Regions from separate parts of the Homo sapiens genome. Here region 1 is linked to region 2. Evidence: promoter capture Hi-C in 16 types of primary human blood cells and fetal thymus (Javierre and others, 2016). All regions are on one chromosome and are shown on one strand. The core of a region is centred on a gene start or on the middle of the fragment in contact, and the rest is flanking DNA. Distances in the headings are between cores, read along the strand shown.

Region 1 (5,669 bases), core at 1,856-4,355, 55 kb before region 2:
AGATTTCCAAGGCAGAGTCCTGGAGAGCAGAGACCAAACAGGTGAAGCCAGGAACTGAGAAGACAAAGTTTTAAACTCATGAGCAGTAACAGAGTTAGGAGAAACCAGAGAAAGAAGCTTGCAGATAAGAAAGGGGAGTATATTAAGGATCAGTGTGAGTAAATACTTAGGTTACAATGACTTGCACCTTTAAAAAGTTAAATAAGCAGGTTATAAGTAATGTGATTACAACTCCTCACTGTATAGAAAGATTCAGCTCTGCAATCAAATGGATGCTACTGATTTTTCAAAGTAGACAAGATAGCATAAAGAGGTAAAAAGAAACTGGGAGAATTCCAGAAGCCCTAGATCCTCAAAAAGCAATTCCCAATTTGAGCTACTCTCCCCAATCCAACCACAATAGTAGAAACTGGAAATTCATCCAACGACCAACATCGAAAGGAACTACAACTGGGGGAGTTTACGATTCTGAGATGCCCCATTCATTCTATTCTTCTTTCCCCAGACCCTCAGGCACCACTACAGTGTGTTTCTCAGAATGCCAGAAATTGAGAAAGGCTGCGGGTGACATGGTTTCCTTGATAAATATGAAAAATGACATGTATTATAACTCTTTGTTGACTATGCCCTAGGCACATTAGCATATTTAATACTTTTAAAAAGCTCCTCTATTAGAAATCCTTATTTCAGTAAATGCTTTTGTAACCTCCCTCCTGTCACTAGCTCGTCAGAGCACACACACTCCATAGAAAACAGTCCTACGGCAAAGTCTGTAGTTGCCGCTCCCTCTGCCTGCCCCATTGCCAAGATCTGTAACTAAAAGCTGCACTGTCTAAATGCAGAGTTGTTCGGACTCCAAAACACTTCCTGTTGAAAGGAAAACTTCTCTTGGCTTTCAGATTCATTGCTTGCGAAGGAGGGATAAGAGCATCACTTGTTTGTCAGTTGGCTTTCATCATTGGTGCAGTTAGTTAATAAGCAGACAGTATGTTAATAACATGGACATACCTGCTTGAGACTCTCTGCCCCCGTAGGGAGATCAGAAAATACACACACACACACACACACACACACACACACACACACACGCGTGCGCGCGTGCACAAAGGAGGGTGGAAACAAGTTATTAAAGAGAAGATAATGTGCTCAAAGTCCTTGAGGAGGAAAATAAAATTACAACCAACAGGCCGGGTGCAGTGGTTCATGCCTGTAATCCCAGTACCCTTAGGTGGATCACTTGAGGTCAGGAGTTCAAGTCCAGCCTGACCAACATGGTGAAACCCTGCCTCTACTAAAAATACAAAAATCAGCCAGGCATGGTGAGGCATACCTGAAATCCCAGCTACTCAGGAGGCCGAGGCAGGAGAATCACTTGAACCTGGGAGGCGGAGGTTGCAGAGAGCCGAGATCGCACCACTGCACTCCAGCCTGGGCAACAGAGTAAGATCCCATCTGAAAATAAATAAATAAATAAATATAAATAAAGAATAAACTAATTAATTTCTAAAAATTACAAGAGGCAGAGCCCAAAACACAGCATGCTGGCTGCGTGAAGACCCATAACTCAGTTGGCATGTTTTTCAGCAAGCTATTACTCCCCTCCCTTGAAACTCCAGCTTGTAAATATATTTATAGCTGCTCCACACAATATGCCGGATACTAAAAAAAAAACACTGAGTCATTGTTCCTGGTGAACCAGTTTTGCAAGAGTTAATCTAATCCCTGGCATGAAGCTCAATATGCTTTGCCAAAAGCTTCAGCAAGGAAGAATCCCGCTTTTGGCCTAAAGGTTAGCTGATCTCAATCAGGCTGCTACAGAAACTCAGCATTTATTGACAGGGCACACTGTTTTTGATCTGTCTAGAAATGGAGGCATTATGAAGTGCACTTGCCAGTACCTGTGTTAATTGATGAGTCTCTCTTTTACACAATCATAGTAAGTGCCCTGAGAGTTTTTGGCTTCTTGTTCCTTTGCTCCACCCGTCCCTGTGTGCTGAGGCACAACAGTCCACTGGAGTGGGAGTTTCCAAATCAGATGTGTCAGCTTTTCCTAACAACTCGCAGAGTGATTAAAGAATTTTAAAGCAAGTAATTTCACTGTGACTCCCCTAGGTTATGAGCAGCCCAAGAGGAGGAACAATGGTAGCTCCAGAAGTTCTAACAGGAAGAGGAAAGGGTCAGAGATTTTATTAAGAAAAGAATTTTGGAGGAGTAATCAGCGGATTTGACTTGAAACAATAGCTGCAGAGTAAGTACATTATTTATCCTTAAATTGTATGCTGTAGCTTCATTAAAAAAAAATAGCAAACATTTCCGAGAATAATTTCTGTAAGATTGAAAAAAATCCCAGTTGGCCATATTGCAGAATAACACCAAGGCTGGTGAGTAAAGCACGTTCCAGGAGGTAGAAATTGGGAGTCCAGGGCACCGGGCGCGGTGGCTCATGACTGTATTCCCAGCACTTTGGGAAGCCAAGGCGGGTGGATCACGAGGTCAGGAGATCCAGACCACCCTGGCCAACATGGTGAAACCCTGTCTCTACTAAAAATACAAAAAAATTAGCTGGGTGTGGTGGCGCATGCCTGCAATCCCAGATACTCGAGAGGCTGAGCAGGAGAATCGCTTGAAGTTGGGAGGGAGACAGAGACTGCAGTGAGCCGAGATCGTGCCACTGCACTCCAGCCTGGCAACAGAGCAAGACTCCGTCTAAAAAAAAAAAAGAAAAAAAAAAAAAAGAAATTGGGAGTCCAGGGAGGGGCTGGTCAAAACCCATCAAGCCATCCCTTGGCATTGGGCAGGAAATGTAACTGATTCATCTTGACATCCCAGCTCTGTGTACAGTCGTTGGCACAAGAAGGAGCTCCGTAAATGTTTATTGAATCAAAGAGGTGCTGAGCACCTAAAGGAGAGGAGGAAGGGAAGGTTCGAGAAGATAGAGAAGAGAAAAGAGGGTCAGAAAGGAGAAAGGGGAGGGAAGAGAGAGGAGGAGAGAGACAAGAAGGAAGGGAGAAAGAGGAGGGGCTAGAAAAAAGACCATGACACAGTTGGCCCACAAGCTGAGAGTATTTATGGTGCTCTAAGAGGTCAAGTATATTTTTACCCTCTTGGCCAACTAATACAGTTGTTAAATGTCACCATGATCACAGCTCTTGCTCTATAAAACTGGATATATGTTTTCTCACATTAGAGCTGTTTTCTAGAGTTGATTTCCTACAGCTTAGTTTGACATCTTAATGAAGATTCCACCACGAGTATGCCATCTCCTCAAATGGTGCCATCTTTTCAGGCACAGAGGAAACCTGCCTTACTTCTGCAGACATTACCATCAAAAACATTGTCATTGTCCTGGGTCCCCTTCCCCAACGAGTTATTTCTGTACTTCTGAAAACTTGTTTAGCTGATGGGAAAACACATGTGAGCCTAGTTTGTGTGTGTGTGTGTGTGTGAGCCCAGTTTCAACTGGCCCTCTTTCCTGACTCATAGGAACCAATCAGAAACTTGTGTTCTGCAGCTCTGTCATTTCCACTCCAGAGAAGAAAAATGTCACAAGCCCTGGATTGTGAAGTAACAAAGTGAGCAATACAAAATGAGCCAGAGAAAGACCAGATCAAGGACCCAGGGCCACCCCAAAAGCTGCTGTGACCCCATGTCCTTCTCATATGAGGCTTCTTTGTTTCAGTTAGTGTCGCCTTCTGGGCAAGAATGGACCAATGAAAGGCAAACCATCTGTGTGTGTGCTTCTCTCAGATGCCCACAAAACTCCCCATAGTTGTTACCTTCTGGGAAGCTCCGAATGTTGTCATTGTTCCTGATTTTCCTATTCGAGAGATTTGCAAATTTAACGACATGGTATTTAATCTTTAAACCTTATCAGGCCAGGCACAGTGGCTCACACGTGTAATCCCAGCACTTTGGGAGGCCGAGGCGGGCAGATCACCTGAGGTCAGGAGTTCAAGACCAGCCTGGCCAATATGGTGAAACCCCGTCAGTACTAAAAATACAAAAATTAGCCGGGCTTGGTGGTGGGTGCCTGTAGTCCTAGCTACTCGGGAGGCTGAGGCAGGAGAATCACTTGAACCCGGGAGGCAGAGGTTGCAGTGAGCCGAGATCACGCATTGCACTCCAGCCTGGGCAACAGAGCAAGACTCCATCAAAAAACAAACAAACAAAAAAACCTAATTTGCTGTTGTGGAATATCAACACAAATGGGATAATACAAGTACACCCTTTGTACAAGCATCTTATTATTTGTCTCTATATAAGTAGAAAGATGGAGGTGAAAGAGTGGTCAAGGAGGGGCTGGGAGGGAAAGCATGACAAAAAGAAGGACTGGGGCCTCACGACAGTTGGCCACCAGCTCTGGTCACCACACCAAACTCAAGGCACTAAAATCATTCCATAAGAACATGGGGCACTGTACTAGCTCTGGTCCTGACTTTCTAGGAGCCTAAGCTTTATGGTGGAGACAGATGAGTGAACAGTTACAATGAGGGAGCAATTTCAACAATGGGGGTGAAGATGGGGAGATCAGCAGCGTATGTGGGGACTAGTAGGAATGTATGGTCAGAGAATACTTCTCAGAGAAGCTGACTTCTAGAAATTCACCTTGCATGCATCTTACTTCTTATGACCCCCACTGCAGAGCAAGGATGCATGTAAAAAGTGACAAGGAAGTAACCATTATCGACCTTAAGTTAACCTGGCATTCTGTATCAGCCCAGCTTCCTGTGGTTAGCAGGTGGCCTTTTACAATCGCCCTCTGACATTTTCCAGTTGATCCCAAAAGCTAATTCCATATTACCAGGGGAAAGAGTGATGTTAAATGCCTTTTATAAAAAAGGAAGCATTTATTGAAACTGAATCATCAACTTTAATCTGGGTTGCTTTCTGAAATGGGAGCAGTCTCTGCTGCAATATTCAGATATTGGCCTTGCTTTCCTGATAGCACCATATCTGTTTCTGAGCCAAGGGATCAGTCAGGATGGCAACCCATGCTGGAGCAGCCAAGAGCTTGGGCGCCCAATTAAATGGAGGTCACTCATCACACTTCCCTATTTGTGTTCTTTAACCATCTGTACTGGAGGAGACCCTGTTCACAATTCTTTCTGTTCTCTTTTACTAGCCCCAATCCTACCATTTCAAAAATGCTTTGTTTCCAAAGAATATCCATATGGAGCATGGAGCATGGCCACTCTCTAATCAGAATAGCAAAAAGTAAATTAAAAGGAACAAGATCATGGCTTTTGCAGGAACATGGATGGAGCTGGAGGCTATTATCATCAGCAAACTAACGCAGGAACAGAAAATCATATACTGCGTGTTCTCACATATAAGTGGGAGCTAAATTATGAGAACTTATGAACACAAAGAAGAAAACAACAGACTCTGGGGTCTACTTGAGGGTGGAAAGTAGGAGGAGGGAGAGGAGCAGAAAAGATAACTATTGAGTACTGAGCTTAATCCCTGGGTGATGAATCATCCGTACAACAAACCCTCTTGACATGAGTTTACCTATGTAACCAATTTTCACATGTACCCCCTAACCTAAAATAAAAGTTTAAAATAAAAGAAAAAAGACAGTAAAAGGGAGAAGTTCTCAAAAGAAAACATTTGACATAAATGCCACTAAAATATTGCAGTAACAGAAATCCTAATTAAAGGGAGATGAA
Region 2 (4,852 bases), core at 979-3,478:
TTTATTCTCTGTTCTTAGCCTGGAACAAGTACAGTTGACTCTGAACAAGTCAGGTTTGAACTGCATGGGTCCACTCATATGAAGATTTCTTTCAACGAAAGCTACCCCGAGTGTGCCTGCCTTTCCTGCCTCCCCTTCCACCTCCTGCACCTCTACCATCCCTGCCACCCCTAAGACAGCAAGGCCAGTCTCTTCTCTCTCCCCCTCCTCCTTCAGCCTATTCAACTTGAAGATGACAAGGATGAAGAGCTTTATGATGATCTACTTCCCCTTAATGAACAGTAAATATATTTTTTCTTCCTTACAATTTTCTTAATAGCATTTTCTTTTCTCTAGCTTACCTTATTGTAAGAATACAGTGTATAATACATAAAACATACAAAATATGTGTTAATAAACTGTTTATGTTATTGGTAAAGCATCTGGTCAACAGTAGGCTGTTAGGAAAGTGTGAGGGTAGTCAAAAGTTAAGCTCAGATTTTTGACTACGCAAGGGTCGGCATCCCTAAACCCCAAGTTGTTCAAGGTCAACTATAATTCCCTATTACTCCTCACTCTTCCTCCCTCCTTCCTCCTCTTCTTCCTTATCCCTTCTCCTTCATTTTCCCCACAGGCTAACTGCAACTCAGCCCACTTCATTTCCTAATTTTTCCTCCTCCCTGCATCCCCCCGAGTCTTTGTGAGATGCTCTTCCCTTCACTCCTGCCAGCCCTATGGCATCATGGCATTATCATGGTGTATGGAGAACTTCTGTCTTATCTGTTTCTCCCACTAACCCAGTGGTTTTCAACTGGAGACAATTTTGCTCCTCAGGGGACATTTGGAAAAGTCTGGAGACATTTTTAATTGTCACTTCTGGGGAAGGGGGTTGATACTGTCATCTACTGAGTAGAAGCCAAGGATGCTGCTAAACATCCTACAGTGCACAGGACAGCCCCTCACAAAAAAGGATTATCAGGCCCCAAAGGCCAATAGTGCTAAGGTTGAGAAACTGCACTAGGCTGAGTTCCTTTAAAATATGACCCTATTCAGCGCTGTTCCAGCAGCTCCACAGACAGTGTCCAGTGCCCAGTAGGAAGGAATCCAAACAGTTTTAATATTACATTTGAAATTTTAATTGAAAAACTCTTCTGACAGCTGTATGTTATAACTAATAAGCAATATGACCACATACCACAATTCAAAGGAAAACCAATATCCAGAGGTAAAGGTGGCTTACACCCATCAGTCTTTGACACTTCCTCCTATCTAGTTCTCTGTATTTCTTCCCTTTCTCCTTTTCTCTTGTCCCTGTGCTCACTGTCCCCCTTTACTGTCATGTTTGTTTGAATTCCACTTCAAAATGGGAATTTGAACAGAGTGCAATAAATTGTCCCACATTTGTTTATTTTAGGAAATCATTGCATTTAATTTTAACATTTAAACATATCAATTAGGCCAGGTGCGGTGGCTCACGCCTGTAATCCCAGCACTTTGGGAGGCTGAGGCGGGCGGATCACGAGGTCAGGAAATCGAGACCATCCTGGCTAACACGGCGAAACCCCGTCTCTACTAAAAATACAAAAAATTAGCCGGGCGTGATGGCGGGCGCCTGTAGTCCCAGCTACTTGGGGAGCCGAGATCGCGCCACTGCACTCCAGCCTGGGAGACAGAGCAAGACTCCGTCTCAAAAAAAAAAAAACTTATCAATTACTGGGTGACATGCTGTGCACTGCAAGAAAAACAAAGATAAATAGGAAACTGGGACTATCCTAACTGGGGGAGATTTCTGTAGCAGTAGAAAAGTAGAGGAAATATAGTTTTATTTCACTAATGTGATTAGGGAATATCTCATGGAGAAAGTCTTCGATTTAGGTCTTCACACATGTTTCATAAAGAATGTTAACACACCACACATAGGTAATAATGTTGTCTTTCCTTACCTGGCATCATTATGAGGGCCACTTTTTGGGGCAATGATTCCTAAATTTCAGCAACTCCTGGAGGGCTTGTGAAAGAAAGCACAGATTGCTGGGTTCTGCCCTCATAGTTTCTGAGGCAGTAGGTCTTCGGTGAAATCAGAAAACTGGTGTTTCTTTTTTCTTTTTTTTTTTGTGACGGAGTCTTGCTCTGTCACCCAGGCTGGAGCGCAATGGCGTGATTTCAGCTCACTGCAACCTCCGCCTTCCGGGTTCAAGCGATTCTCCCGCCTCAGCCTCTGAGTAGATGGGAAACAGTCGCGCGCCATCATGTTTTTGTAGAGGCGGGGTTTCACTCTATTGGCCAGGCTGATCTTGAACTCCTGACCTCAGGTGATCCGCCCACCTCAACCTCCTGAAGTGCTGGGGTTATAGGCGTGAGCCACGGCGCCTGTTTGTTTTTTTTTTTCTAATCAGAGGTTTTGCTCTTGTCGCCCAGGCTGGAGTGCAATGGTGTGATCTTGTCTCACTGCAACTTCTGCCTCCCAGGTTCAAGTGATTCTCCTGCCTCAGCCTCCCAAGTAACTGTGATTTCAGGTGCCCGCCACTACACCCGGCTAATTTTTGTATTTTTAGTAGAGGCGGGGTTTTGCCATGTTGGCCAGGCTGGTCTCAAAACTCCTGACCTCAGGAGTTCGGCCTCCGAAAGTGCTGGGATTACAGGCATGAGCCACTGTGCCCGGCCTAGAAAACTGGTGTTTCCAACAAGTCCTTTGGTGCTGCTGGTGCTACTGCGGGCCTTCTGAGGAGACTTTGAGAACCGCTGCATCAGGATTATCAGCCTGGTAACTCCTGGCCGAAGAAATGCACACCCTTCATTTGGCTAAAAGAAAGAATTTCCAATATTCATAAAGAAAACACAACTTGTGGGTTCTCCAAGCAGGAGAGGAAAAATCATGTTCCAGTCTATTCCTGTAACTAATGAAGGGCTCAGGTTTCAAAGGTAAGTTAATTGTCAGACCCACTTTATTGTACCCAGTGTCCTTGGGAAACATAATTATTTATTGGAAATATGTCACAACTAACATAAGTCTTAAAAATTTGTTAAATTAGAAACAAAATATTGTATTTGCTGATATGTTAAAACATAAGGGCCTAACATTTAGAATTGCACTTCTCATACTCACAACATGTACTCAAAATGCTGTTAACATCTACTTTGATGATTGTTTTGGGTTTACTTGAATCTAATGTTTCCATTTAATAATTCCTTTTTTTTCCCCTTTCCTTTTTTCAATCAATCCTTTCTCTTTTCTATGTTCTATATTCATGTTATCTTAGAATTCCATTTTGGCCTTCTAGGTTCTTTACTTCTTCCTCCAGCCTGTCATTTTCATGTCTTCAGTGATTTCTCAGACTTCTCACAGAAAGTTAACCATTTTTGTGCATCTTGAAACTTTTAACCTTTGATTTGAAGATAAATGCTAATAAATAAATATAATTCTTATGAATACATTATGCACAATGTTAAATTCAAAATGACTGACATGTTTCATGCTGTGTGCTATAGATATGCTAAACTTCATTTCAAACAGACTAAATAAAACACATGGAACTACATGCACTTTTTGTGAACAGCATCTTCATACCTGTTGTTTGTTAATGTCAGCAATTATAAGCTTATAGGTGTGTTTTTCAAGTGATCACTGAAAATAAATGTAGTATGTCTATTGGCAGAACCACTCACACCTACTAATTATTTGAAAAACATGCTCAAACACACAGTAGTGCCTTCTAGAGAAAGCATAGTATAGTCCTCCCTCATTTCCAAGGACAAGAATTCATTTCTTTAAGCTTTCTTCACGAAAGAATGCAATAAAAGAGGAGGAAACTGGGACTTGATTGAAGAAATATCTCTACTGGGAGCATGAACTAATAATGAGTGACTCTAAGAAATCTCTCACAGGCATTTTTATTTTTGGCTTTTGTTGTTGTTGTTTGGTTGGTTTTCATTTGTTTTTTATTTTTATTTTTTATTTTATTTTTATTTTTTGAGGCAGAGTCTCGCTCTGTCACCCAGGCCAGAATGCAGTAGCACTGTCGTGGGTCACTGCAGTCTTTGCCTCCCAGGTTCAAGTGATTCTCCTGCCCCAGCCTCCTGAGTAGCTGGGATTACAGGCACCTGCCATCATGCCCAGCTAATTTTTGTATTTTTGTAGAGACGGGGTTTCACCATGTTGACCAGGCTGGTCTTCAACTCCTGACCTCACGTGATCTGCCTGCCTCAGACTCCCAGCTGTTTTTTTATTTTTTAATTTTAATTTCATTTTTTATTTTTTGGGGGACAGGGTCTCACTCTGTCACTCAGATTGGAGTGCAGTGGTGTGATCTCAGCTCACCGCAACCTCCGCCTCCTGGGTTCAAGCGATTCTCCTGCCTCAGTCTCACGAGTAGCTGGGATTACAAGTACACACCACTACCGCCCAGCTAATTTTTGTATTTTTATTAGAGATGGGGTTTCACCATGTTAGCCAGACTGGTCTTGAACTCCTGACCTCAAGTGAGCCACCCACCTCAGCCTCCCAAAGTGCTGGGATTACAGGCGTGAGCCACCGCGCCCAACCTGTTTTTTCTTTTTACCGTCACTAAAACAAAGGCAGCACATGCAATTGTCAGTGCCATTTGGCATCTTAAATTAAGACTGAAGACTGCAAAATCCATTTCCTGTTTTCATCCCCTGCTTAATATGAATTTTTCAAAAGACCACTTCCCCTAAGTTACAATAAGAAAATTAGAAATTAATTTGCTTTATCACAAATGGCTTGCATGCTGAGGCATTGTTTAAATGTGTCTGGTCCTTTCTGATTTTTATAACTTAGAGCTGTAAGTCCTGTCATTTCAGTTTACACCATAGTTTTAGGGACACAGAAATTTAAAAGCGAATGTCCGGAAGG

The links. The method cuts DNA at HindIII sites, captures the fragments that hold promoters and counts their contacts. A CHiCAGO score of 5 or more calls a contact.
Region 1: a contact is called between a fragment that was not itself captured here and the fragment with the promoter of TMC1 in region 2, in 1 of 17 cell types (endothelial precursors). The highest score is 8.6, in endothelial precursors.

The regions. Positions count from the first base shown.
Region 1 is chr9:72,573,685-72,579,353 of GRCh38, reverse strand. TMC1 (transmembrane channel like 1) reads right to left here. Exons shown (of 24, transcript NM_138691.3): 2 at 1,331-1,452. LOC101927191 (a long non-coding RNA gene) reads left to right here and starts at 1,825. Exons shown (of 5, transcript XR_242619.5): 1 at 1,825-1,936; 2 at 2,113-2,248. The HindIII fragment of the contact is 2,698 bases long and covers 1,757-4,454 here.
Region 2 is chr9:72,518,984-72,523,835 of GRCh38, reverse strand. TMC1 (transmembrane channel like 1) reads right to left here and starts at 2,228. Exons shown (of 24, transcript NM_138691.3): 1 at 1,923-2,228. LOC101927234 (a long non-coding RNA gene) reads left to right here. Exons shown (of 3, transcript XR_001746721.3): 3 at 19-418. The HindIII fragment of the contact is 6,235 bases long and covers 1-3,579 here.